2 separate regions of the Homo sapiens genome follow, and region 2 is linked to region 1. Evidence: promoter capture Hi-C in human tissues and cell types (Jung and others, 2019). All regions are on one chromosome and are shown on one strand. The core of a region is centred on a gene start or on the middle of the fragment in contact, and the rest is flanking DNA. Distances in the headings are between cores, read along the strand shown. Region 1 holds the start of SEC61A1 (SEC61 translocon subunit alpha 1). Region 2 has its middle 34 kb from the start of RAB7A.

The links. The method cuts DNA at HindIII sites, captures the fragments that hold promoters and counts their contacts. A contact is called where the count stands out against the background at its distance.
Region 2: a contact is called between a fragment that was not itself captured here and the fragment with the promoter of SEC61A1 in region 1, in 1 of the 25 tissues and cell types used here (dorsolateral prefrontal cortex).

The regions. Positions count from the first base shown.
Region 1 is chr3:128,048,591-128,053,924 of GRCh38, forward strand. SEC61A1 (SEC61 translocon subunit alpha 1) reads left to right here and starts at 3,847. Exons shown (of 12, transcript NM_013336.4): 1 at 3,847-3,969; 2 at 4,245-4,312. The coding sequence starts at 3,963. It overlaps LOC102723759 (a long non-coding RNA gene), which reads right to left and starts at 3,585. Exons shown (of 4, transcript XR_007096073.1): 1 at 3,372-3,585. RefSeq lists a cis regulatory region at 3,412-4,028 and a silencer at 3,521-4,160. The HindIII fragment of the contact is 6,890 bases long and covers 968-5,334 here.
Region 2 is chr3:128,689,567-128,695,412 of GRCh38, forward strand. No RefSeq gene overlaps it. Among named protein-coding and RNA genes, the nearest start is that of RAB7A, 34 kb to the right of the region's middle. The HindIII fragment of the contact is 7,361 bases long and covers 1-4,946 here.

The DNA of each region.
Region 1 (5,334 bases), core at 2,597-5,096:
CACTCCAGCCTGGGCAACAGAGCGAGACTTCATCTCAAAACAAAACAAAAAAACTCTAAATACTGACATCTCCATTAAAATATCATTTATTAAGGCCCAAACTCTTTAAAATATATTTTTCAAACAGCCACTGCATTTGTTTCCATTACAGTGAACATACAGAACTTACTGACTTCCACCACAGCGGGTATATAGCTCAGGGGTAGAGCATTTGAATGCAGAACTTACCGACTTCCACATTGCTTTTGCAGATCTAGCACTGCAGGCTTGTCCATCAAGGTTCAATTTGCATTACTTAATGTAGTTATTTCTGCTACTTGGTGTGTGGTAGTAAATATAGTTTATCAAGAAAAGCATGAGTTCCCTGACTTGTATTGGTTTATCCAAAATTAAATTTGATAATTTAGTGCCAAATTAAAACATCCACATTTTTCCTAAACTTTTGGCTGAAACTCCATACTCTCTCTAGAATTACATTAGCATTTTTTGTATAAAATCCAATGACAATTTTCTTATTTGGTACAATATTCCAATTACATCTTTATGGAACTATATCTCAAATGTAATTCTTTCTTGTGTACTCATAATAAAGACAATACAGTGTACTAAATGTTTCCCAGTGTCATAAGATCAACAAAAACCATTATATTCAAAAACCTTTAAATTTGCATTTTAATTATTAAAACACATTCACATAAAAAAATGAAGCTTCTTAGATGATGATTTTAAATACACCTCTTTGATTTACATATTTTTCAAAAAGCTGTTTTCTCATTTGGGTACATCTGGTTTTTAACAGGTGGGTCCAGAATACAATGGCGTGTTCATATCAATATTAATCCTTTTGAAGTTCTAGTAAATGTGTGTGAAATGCTCAATTATACTTAACTATATAATAGTGCTAAAAATTCTGACAGTACCTTCTAAATCTTTTTTTTTTTTTTTTTTTTTTTTTGAGACAGAGTCTCGCTCTGTTGCCCAGGCTGGAGTGCAGTGATGAGATCTCGGTTTACTGCAACCTCCACCCCCCAGGGTTCTAGCCATTCTCATGTCTCAGCCTCCTGAGTAGTTGGGACTACAGGCACGCACCACCATGCTCAGCTAATTTTTTATTTTTAGTAGAGGCGAGATTTCACCATGTTGGCCAGGCTGGTCTCGAACTCCTGGCCTCAAGTGATCTGCCCACCTTGGCTTCCCAAAGTGCTGGGATTTCATGAGCCACCAAGCTTGGCCCTAAATCTTTTTGATTGCTTTATCCTCACTCTGATAACCTTTTTGGGAGTTCTAAGTTTTCAAATACTTAATTTATGAAACTGATTATATTCTTTTAAGTTCTTTTCTCATCGATAATCACAATTTTTCTTCACTTGCACAAGCTTTAAGAGCATTCTGATGAATATATGTTTAACACTTTGATCTTTTAACAATAGAACTTCTGAGCACTCAGTACCCAACATTTCTGTCACTAGCAATGTCAAATTTTTGGTTGAAAAAAATTATTTTTTCACTACAAAACTATAGATTTTATGTAATAAAGTTTATCTTATAAATTATAAATTTTATTTTGTGCTGATTCTTAAACAGTATCAAAAGAAGTTCCAGGCGGGGATTCATTATTATTACAAATTTCTTGTTTATTCTTCTGCAGATATCAAGATTTACATTTATCATACTTAAAAGTATTGAAAATTCATCCAGATTTTTGTGGTCTCTTTCATTCTAGGTGGATGTTTCTAATATCCTATAATAAAATCTTAAATGTATAAATATAAAACACTGCATACCTATTTTCCGAAGAATTAATGTATGTGCTTACAATAGAAATATTTTATTATTTTTTGAGACAGAGTCTCACTCTGTCGTCACCCAGGCTGAAGTGCAGTGGTGAGATCTCAGCTCACTGCAGCCTCGACCTCCCAGGCTCAAGGGATCCTCCCACCTCAGCCTTTCCAGTAGCTGGGACTACAGGCATGCGCCACCATGCCTAGCTAATTTTTTTCTGTATTTTTTTCTAGAGACAGGGTTTTGCCATGTTGCCCAGGCTGGTCTTGCACTCCTGGGCTCAAGTGATCCTCTTGCCTTGGCCTCCCGAAGTGCTGGGATTACTGGTGTGAGCCACTGCACCCAGTCCAATAAAAATATTTTAAACTAGTGATTCTCCTAAAGCAATCAGTGATTTAACACACGTAACTTGGCTGCAGTCCCTGCAGTGACACAGGCCAGATTGTGTCATAATGTGGAAACAACAGGAGGCCTGTTATCAATGGTACTGACATCCTACAACTATTAGCACAAACCAATGAGTTTATATTAAAATTTCTATTAACTAATTGTAATATTTATTGTAATTACTATACTATTTACCCTCGAAATATTTCAACATTTTAACCATCAATATGGTGCAGGGTGCATAATGGCTAAATATCGGATCTAGTCTATATGCTGAACTTAGTCCAGGGGCTGCCAGTTTTAGCTTCAGGCCAAAACTCCAGAAGAGATCATCAGTGGGTCCTGGAAGTGAAGATGGGTTGCATTTCAGACTCTGAATAAAGAGTCAATGTCTTCTTTTTCCCCTTTTTGGTGGGGGATGGATATCAAGTGATGTCACACCTAGACCACTTCACTGAAGTTACCTGCCTGTTCCCAGTAGTCCTTTGAATTTTCCACCAGTGGGTTTGTATTCCAAAAAAGACTTCCTGTCCTGTCCAACTTTCTGAGCCAAGAATGTACAAAACCTGATTATCTGCTAGAAATGGGTGAGAATGGAAAAATCCAAATAGTTGACACCTAAATTAAAAGCAAAAAAGCATCTTGCCACATATGTACCCTCAACTTCTACCTGTCCTGGTCAAGGTTTAGCTCCATGAAACCTTGCCTGATCCCACAAGGCGTGCCCACCTCCTCCCTGCTAAATGCTCACAGCATTAAGTCTGTTTCTCTTAGATGACATCATACCTACTGACTACAGATGCCTGAAAGTAAATTCCAACCCCCAGCCCCAGCATCCCTTGCCCTACCCGTTATCCCCCTTTCCCACACCGATCTTAGGCAATCACACCGCCATGCTTTGCCCACAACAGTCTCCTCAACCTGTTCCCTCATTCCTTCTCGCCAGAATCTATCAAGGCTCGGCACAAAGGTACTCTCCCAGGAGGCCTTCCTGAATTCTTCTGTGAGGCAGACTACTTCCCGAGCTGCCCCGGCCCTTCTCCGGCCAAGTCTCTCCAGAAACTCATCCCATTCGTTCTCAGATGGAAGGGGACCCACACCCACGACAAGCCTCCGGGTTTGCTTAATGACTCAGACAGCGAGGGTGCTCGGTAAGCCCCACCAGCCCGCGCCCTACTCAGCAGGTAATGACGGAGACCTACTAGGTGACGGGCGCCGCGGTAGACGCTGGGATAAGGTCCCTGCTCCAGGGAGCTTACGGTCTATTCACTAACGTCAAAGAGCAGTGAGTGCTGTTACGTGTATGGGAGCCACCAGGGTCTCCGCCTGCCTGCAGGGCCACGCGCGCACTCGACGCTTCGCGCCTGCCTCAGTTTCTCCGTGAGGCCGCACAGCCCCAGTCTCGGGAGGCGTGACACACCCTCCCCGCGCGCTCTCGCGTTACCAAGTCTGCGCAGCCGCACACCCCCAGTCCCGGCGGGCCCCGCGCGCCAGGCCCCTTCCCGACAGGCCCCAGGAGCCCCGCTGCATGCCGGGGCTTGAGGTCTCGGCGAAGCGGCGCGGCGCGGCGAAGCGCGGCGGCCGGCGGGCGCGCGTGGCAGGAAGCGGAAGCGATCCGAGGCCCGGCCCCGGCCCCGCCCCGCGCCGCGCCGCGCCGCTTGCCGCCGGGCTAGCACTGACGTGTCTCTCGGCGGAGCTGCTGTGCAGTGGAACGCGCTGGGCCGCGGGCAGCGTCGCCTCACGCGGAGCAGAGCTGAGCTGAAGCGGGACCCGGAGCCCGAGCAGCCGCCGCCATGGCAAGTGAGTCCTGTAGGGAAGCCCTATTGAGGCCGGGACGGAACAGATCCCCCTTCCCCACACCCGTGCGGTCGGGCGCCCGCCGGCCAACCCTGACCGGCCCCCTGCAGAACGCGGCCCGTGCCCCCGGCCCTTCTCGAGTATCCCCACGCGTCCGGGGTGCGGCCGGCTCCCCTGGCCCCTGCTCTCACTCGTCGTGGGCAGAAGGCGTCCCTGGGTAGCGCGGAAGGTTACTTCTCTGTGTCCCAACTCTTCCTGTTTTGTTTCTCCCATCAAAGTCAAATTTCTGGAAGTCATCAAGCCCTTCTGTGTCATCCTGCCGGAAATTCAGAAGCCAGAGAGGAAGGTAAGTACCCCAAATCGCCAACAAAGAAGGTTTCAGGAAACTGTCTGGACTCTGGAAGTTTACAGTATGATTAAAAATGGCTTCAGCACGGCAATGGAAACTCTCCCTTCTCTTCCCTTGGAGTGTAGTTGTGCTCTGTTATTCCGGAGAGCTGTCGAAAGGTGACCTGGTTGTGTGGAAATTTCCACTGAAATCACTGTGCTTTATTTGGAGCATCTTTGGTGGATGTTGCTCCGAGAACAAAGCCTCCGGTTGCCCTGTCCCAAAAATGGATCCGGGCCATGAATGAATAAGGCCTCAGTTAGGATAGCAGATTGAGTTACCCTCCCTTTTTCACCTCCAACGGGAGCAGATCACGGGTTGGTTTTTTTTCCCAGGAGATGCCCTTTGTATCCAGCTGCTAAAGGGAAGGGCTGTCACTTTAGTATTTACAAATGATTTTGTACCTTTTATGTAGGCTGTCACAATAGGGGGAATAAAGGCTATTCTTTTGTGAAGTCTGCTGCTTTTCACAGACGGTGTATTAAAACAAGGAAAGATTAAATTTAGAGCTGTGCTGAATCAGAAATTGTGTGGAGTGAGTGTTGCCAGTGTAACTACAGCTGTCAACGAAAAAAAGTTTCATTAGGTTCCTAGGTTAGAGAGTGGGGAATAAAATGTTTGTGTCCTCACATTATTTTTCAAACTGTTGTTAAAGCATTCACATGGACACTTGGGTGCTTGGAATCCACTTTCATTTTTTTACGTAAAATAGTTTCATATAAATGCCCATGTGCTGCTTTTAATGGACGAATTTGTAAAGCTTTACCCCCTCAATTCCAGTGTAGCGAAGGGGCATGGCTCTGGAGGCAGGCAAGCCTAGGTCCCACCCTTTACATAGCACCTTAATAGCTATGTGACCTTGGCCTTGTAACTCAGTGTGGTAGACGGAACAAGGGAAATACGTGCAAGGTATAGCAGTGGCTCAGGAAGGGATTAACTCTGGGAGACATGATGTCTTATGGTGGTTTTGAAGGAGAAAT
Region 2 (5,846 bases), core at 16-2,515, 640 kb after region 1:
CCGAGGTTGCAGTGAGCCAAAATCGCGCCACTGCACTCCAGCCTGGGCAGCAGAGCAAGACTCCGCCTGAAAAAAAAAAAATATAAGAGCTAAAACTATAAAAATCTTAGAAGCAAGGATGGAGGGAAAGCTTCATGATTTTGGATTTGGTGATGATTTTGTGGCTATGACACCACAGGCACAGGCAACAAAAGAAAAATAGACAAACTGGGGCCGGGTGTGGTGGCTCACGCACTTTGGGAGGCTGAGGCGGGTGAATCACCTGGGCTCAGGAGTTCGAGACCACCCATGGCAACATGGTGAAACCCCATCTCTACTAAAAATACAGAAAAATTAGCTGGGAATGGTGGCGTGCTCCTGTAGTCCCAGCTACTTAGGAGGCCAAGGCGAGAATCGCTTGAGCTCTGGAGGAGGAGGTTGCAGTGAGCCAAGATTGCATCACTGCACTCCAGCTTGGGCTACAGAGTGAGACTCTGTCTCAAAAAAAAAGACAAATTAGACCTCATTGAAATTAACTTTTGTGCATTGAAGGGTTGGAAAGCTTTGATACATTTCCTCACCAATCATAAAGGTCATGGCCAACATGCCTATGACAAAAGACAGAATTACAAGAGAAAATAATAACAAACTTATTTACAACATTTTACACAATACAGGAGCTTCTGGAAATGAAGACCTAAAGACCAAGGGAAAACTATTTGTATGCTTAGGTTGAATGAAGAATGGACAGCCATGTAGAAATATGATTGGACAAAAAGGGTGTGATCTAATAGTAATACACTGAGGGGAAGAAACCCAGTAAGGTTCAAATTCTTCTTGGTCTCTCAGTGTAGCATTTCTTTGCCCTAGGTATCGGCAGGACTCTTCTGGAATGAGGGTCTTCAAGGGAGAAGAGGAGAGTAACCTCGCTTTTTTTTTCTTTCTTTTTTTTTTTTTTTTGAGACAGTCTTGTTCTGTCATCTAGGCTGGAGTGCAGTGGCATAATCTCAGCTCACTGCAACCTCTGCCTCCTGGGTTCAAGCAATTCTCCTGCCTCAACCTCCCCTGCCTCAGCCTCCTGAGTAGCTGGGACTACAGGCGTGTGCCACCACGCCCAACTTTTTTTTTTTTTTTTTTTTTTTGTATTTTTAGTAGAGACGGGGTTTCACCATGTTGGCCAGGGTGGTGTCGAACTCCTGACTTCAGGTGATCCGCCCATCTCGGCCTCCCAAAGTGCTGGGATTACAGGAATGAGCCACCGTGCCCAGCCTAGACAGAGTAACTTTTCTAGGTTTTGTGGCTAGCTCTGGGGGAGTGGGATTCTAGTTACTACAACCTGCCTTGGGAAGAAGGGTTCTGATTCTCACTTCAGTGGAGAAAGAGGGATGGGAGATAGGAGGGCAGGAGAAGGTCAGAGAGAGACTTTGCTTCTGGAACCTTTCAGTCTCCTTTAGTTCAAAGCACTCAGCATGCTAAAGCAGCATACTTTGGGGTATCATTTTCTGAGCCTGAACAGCATCAAAGAAAAACAAAGGGTTCTGGTATATTTATGGGAGGCCATTGATTTGGTTTTTTTGTTTGTTTGTTTTATGAGACACGGTCTCACTCTGTTGCCCAGGCTGGCGTGTAGCGATGCCATCATGACTTACTGCAGTCTTGACCTCCTGGGCTCAAGCGATCTTACCACTTCATCCTCCCCGGTAATTGGGACTACTATTTTTTTGTAGAGAAGAGGTTTCATCATACTGCCCAGGCTATTGTTGAACTCCTGAGCTCAAGGGATCCTCCCACCTCGGCCCCTGAAAGTGCTAGAATTACAGGTGTGAGCCACAGTGCCTGGCCAAATGGAGGCCATTGATTTGTACTGAGCTCCTCCTACACTAGGCCCCTACAGGCTGACCCAAAATGGAGTCACTCATGCTAAGGTTCCATGTCACCAAACTGAAACCTAAGCTGTTTGCTTATAAGATCTGACCTTAGGGCTGGGCGTGGTGGCTCACGCCTGTAATCCCAGCACTTTGGGAGGCCGAGGCGGGTGGATCACTTGAGGTCAGGAGTTCGAGACCAGCCTGACCAACATGGTGAAACCCCATCTCTACTAAAAATACAAAAATTAGCTGGGTGTGGTAGTGCATGTCTGTAATCCCAGCTACTTGGGAGGCTGAGGCAGGAGAATTGCATGAACCCAGGAGGCAAACGTTGCCGTGAGCTGAGATCGTGCCACTGGACTCCAGCCTGCGCAACAGAGCAAAACTCTTGTCTAAAAAAAAAAAAAAAAATCTGACCTTCTGAGAAATCAGGAGAGAGGCAACAGTCAAATCCCCAATAGGTCAGTTTTACAAAAAAATAGATTCACAGCAACCAATCAAAAGGGGCCCATTCAACCTAAGCTGCTTGATAAGGAAGTCCCCTCTGCTTTAAGCCATGCAAGGAAAGTAACCCGAAGGAACCTAATGTTAACCAATCCACTTTTTTTTTTTTTTTGAGATGGAGTCTCGCTCTGTAGCCCAGGCTGGAGTGCAGTGGCGCAATCTCGGCTCACTGCAACCTCCGCCTTCCGGGTTCACGCCATTCTCCTGCCTCAGCCTCCCAAGTAGCTGGGACTACAGGCGCCCGCCACCAAGCCCGGCTCATTTTTTTTGTATTTTTAGTAGAGACGGGGTTTCACCATGTTAGCCAGGATGGTCTCGATCTCCTGACCTCGTGATCTGCCCTCCTTGGCCTCCCAAAGTGCTGGGATTACAGGCATGAGCCACCGCGCCCAGCCAACCAATCCACTTTTTCCACTATGCTGTTTCCTTGTTCCTGGTCAAGCTGCCTGCCTTAGAAAAACCTACTGCTCTGCCATGCCTGGTAGAGCTCCTGTCTATTTTGTAGGCTGGATGTTGCTCAGTTCATGAATCACCAATAAAAGCTAATTAGATCTTTATTTTTTTTACAGACAGTGTCTTGCTCTGTCACCCAGGCTACAGTGCAGTAGTGCAATCCTAGCTCACTGTAACCTTAAACTCCTAGGCTCTGGTGATCCCCCCACCCCGGCCTCCCAAAGTAAGGAGATTACAAGCATGAGATACCACATCTAGCCAAATCTTTAAAACTCAATGTGTTGAAATTGTGTTTTTGACACAACACACAGAATAGGAGAAAATATTTGTGAATCATATATCTGATAAGAGATTAATATCCAGAATGCATGCAGAACTCCTAAAACTCAACAACAGAAAACCCATTTTCAAAATAAGCAAGGGTTGCACAGCAATCTGAACATACTTAATATCTGTGTGAGATAGAGGAACAAACCTAAGTGATTTTTCCTACTCTTACCCAGTCACTCAACACTGCCAACAGCAGATATGCGGGGGTTATTTCCCCACACACCAAACATCGATTCTGCGGATTCCCCAGTAGACATCAGCTGGGTGTCCTCCAGTTCAGTTCTGACACCATCTACCTGGAGATAGTGTCAGATCCCACAGGTTGAGGGCTCTAGTCCCACAAGGCTGCCCCCCACTTCAGATGCTGCAAGCACGGGTCGTGGTCTGTGCTTCTGACCAATTGGCTATAAACTGGGGCTCCCAGGATTTATTTAATTGGCTAGTGTGGCTCACAAGACTCAGGGAACCACTTACTGATGTATACTGGTTTCTTATAAAGGATATTACAAAGAATACAGATGAACACTGTAATCCCAGCACTTTGGGAGGCTGAGCGAGGCAGGCAGATCACCTGAGGTCAGGAGTTGGAGATCAGCCTGGCCAACATGGCAAAACCCCGTCTCTACTAAAAACATAAAAATTAGCTGGGCATGGTGGCATGTGCCTGTAGTCCCAGCTACTCAGGAGGCTGAGGCATGAGAATCGCTTGAACCTGGGAGGTAGGGGTTGTGGTGAGGCAAAATTGTGCCACTGCACTGCAGCCTGGGCAACAGAGTGAGACTCTGTCACAAGCAAGCAAACAAACAAACAAAAAAACAGATGAACAGCCAGATGGACGAGATGCCCAGGAAGAGGTGTGGGGAAGATGCACAGAGTTTCTATGCCTTCTCTAGGCATGCCCCTCTCCAGGAATCTGCCTGTGCTCAGCTGTTGGGAAGCTCTTCTGAACCCTGTCCTTTTGGGTTTTTAGGGAGGCTTCATGACCTACACAACTGACTAAATCATTGGCCTTTGGTGATCAACTCAGCCTTCAGCTTCTCTCTCCTCCCCAAAGTCAGGGGGCTGCTGAAAGTTCCAACCATCTAATCACAGGTTGGTTCCCTTGTCAACCAGCTCCAATCCTGAGGATATCAGGGATCTGCCAAGAGTTCCCTCATTAGAACAAAAGAGCTCCGCTCCTGTCACCCAGGAAATTCCAACAGATTTAGGAACTCTGTGTCAGGAACCAGGGTCAAAGACCAAATGTTAGAACAAAAGATTGTCTTAGCACCCCTACTGCTTAGAAAATTACATGAGTATTAGGGGCTCTGTGCCAGCAACTGGGGCAGAGACCAATGTGTATATACATATATACGTGTGTATATATGTATGTATATATATGTGTGTGTATATATATATTATTTATTTTTTTGTTTTTGGAGATGGAGTCTCGCTCTGTCGCCCAGTGTGGAGTGCAATAGCGAGGTCTCGGCTCACTGCAACCTCTGCCTCCCAGGTTCAAGCTATTCTCCTGCCTCAGCATCCCAAGTTGCTGGGATTACAGGTGCCTGCCACCACGCCTCGCTAATTTTTGTATTTTTAGTAGAGATGGGGTTACACCATGTTGGCCAGGCTGGTCTCCAACTCCTGACCTCGTGATCTGCCTGCCTCGGCCTCCCAAAGTACTGGGACTACAGGCATGAGCCACTGTGCCCGGCCCTTTTTTATTTTATTTTATTTTATTTATTTATTTTTTTTTGAGACGGAGTCTTGCTCTGTTGCTCAGGCTGGAGTGCAGTGGCACAATCTCAGCTCACTGCAAGCTCCGCCTCCTAGGTTCACGCCATTCTCCTGCCTCAGCCTCCCGAGTAGGTGAGACTATGGGCACACGCCACCGAGCCAGGCTAATTTTTTCTATTTTTTAGTAGAGAGGGGGTTTCACCGTGTTAGCCAGGATGGTCTCGATCTCCTGACTTCATGATCCGCCCACCTCAGCCTCCCAAAGTGCTGGGATTACAGGCATGAGCCACTGCACCCAGCTGGCCCTTTTTTATTTTTTGAGACCGTCTCTCTCTGTCGCCCAGGCTGGAGTGCATTGGTGAGATCTCGGCTCACTGCAACCTCTGCTTCCTGGGTTCAAGCAATTCTCCCTGCCTCAGCCTCCCAAGTAGCTGGGATTACGGGCGCCCACCACCAAGCCTGTGTAATTTTTTTTTTTTTTTTTTTTGAGACAGAGTTTCACTCTTGTGGCCCATGCTGGAGGGCAGTGTCACAGATCGGCTCACTGCAACCTCTACCTTCTGGCTTCAAGCAATTCTCCTGCCTCACCCTCCCGAGTAGCTGGGATTATGGGCATGTGCCACCACCCCTGGCTAATTTTGTATTTTTAGTAGAGATGGGGTTTCACCATGTTGGCCAGGCTGGTCCTGAACTCCTAGCCTCAGGTGATCTGCCTGCCTCGGCCTCCCAAAGTGCTGGGATTACAGGCGTGAGCCATCATGCCTGCCTAATTTTTGTATTTTTAGTAGAGATGGGGTTTCGCCGTGTTGGCCAGGCTGGTCTTGAACTCCTAACCACAGGTGATCTGACTGCCTCAGCCTCCCAAAGTGCTAGGATTACAGGTGTAAGCCACGGCATCAGGCCAATATTTATTATTATCTTACAATGCCATTAAACAATACACTTAAACATTGTTGGCTGGGCACAGTGGCTCACATCTGTAATCCCAGCACT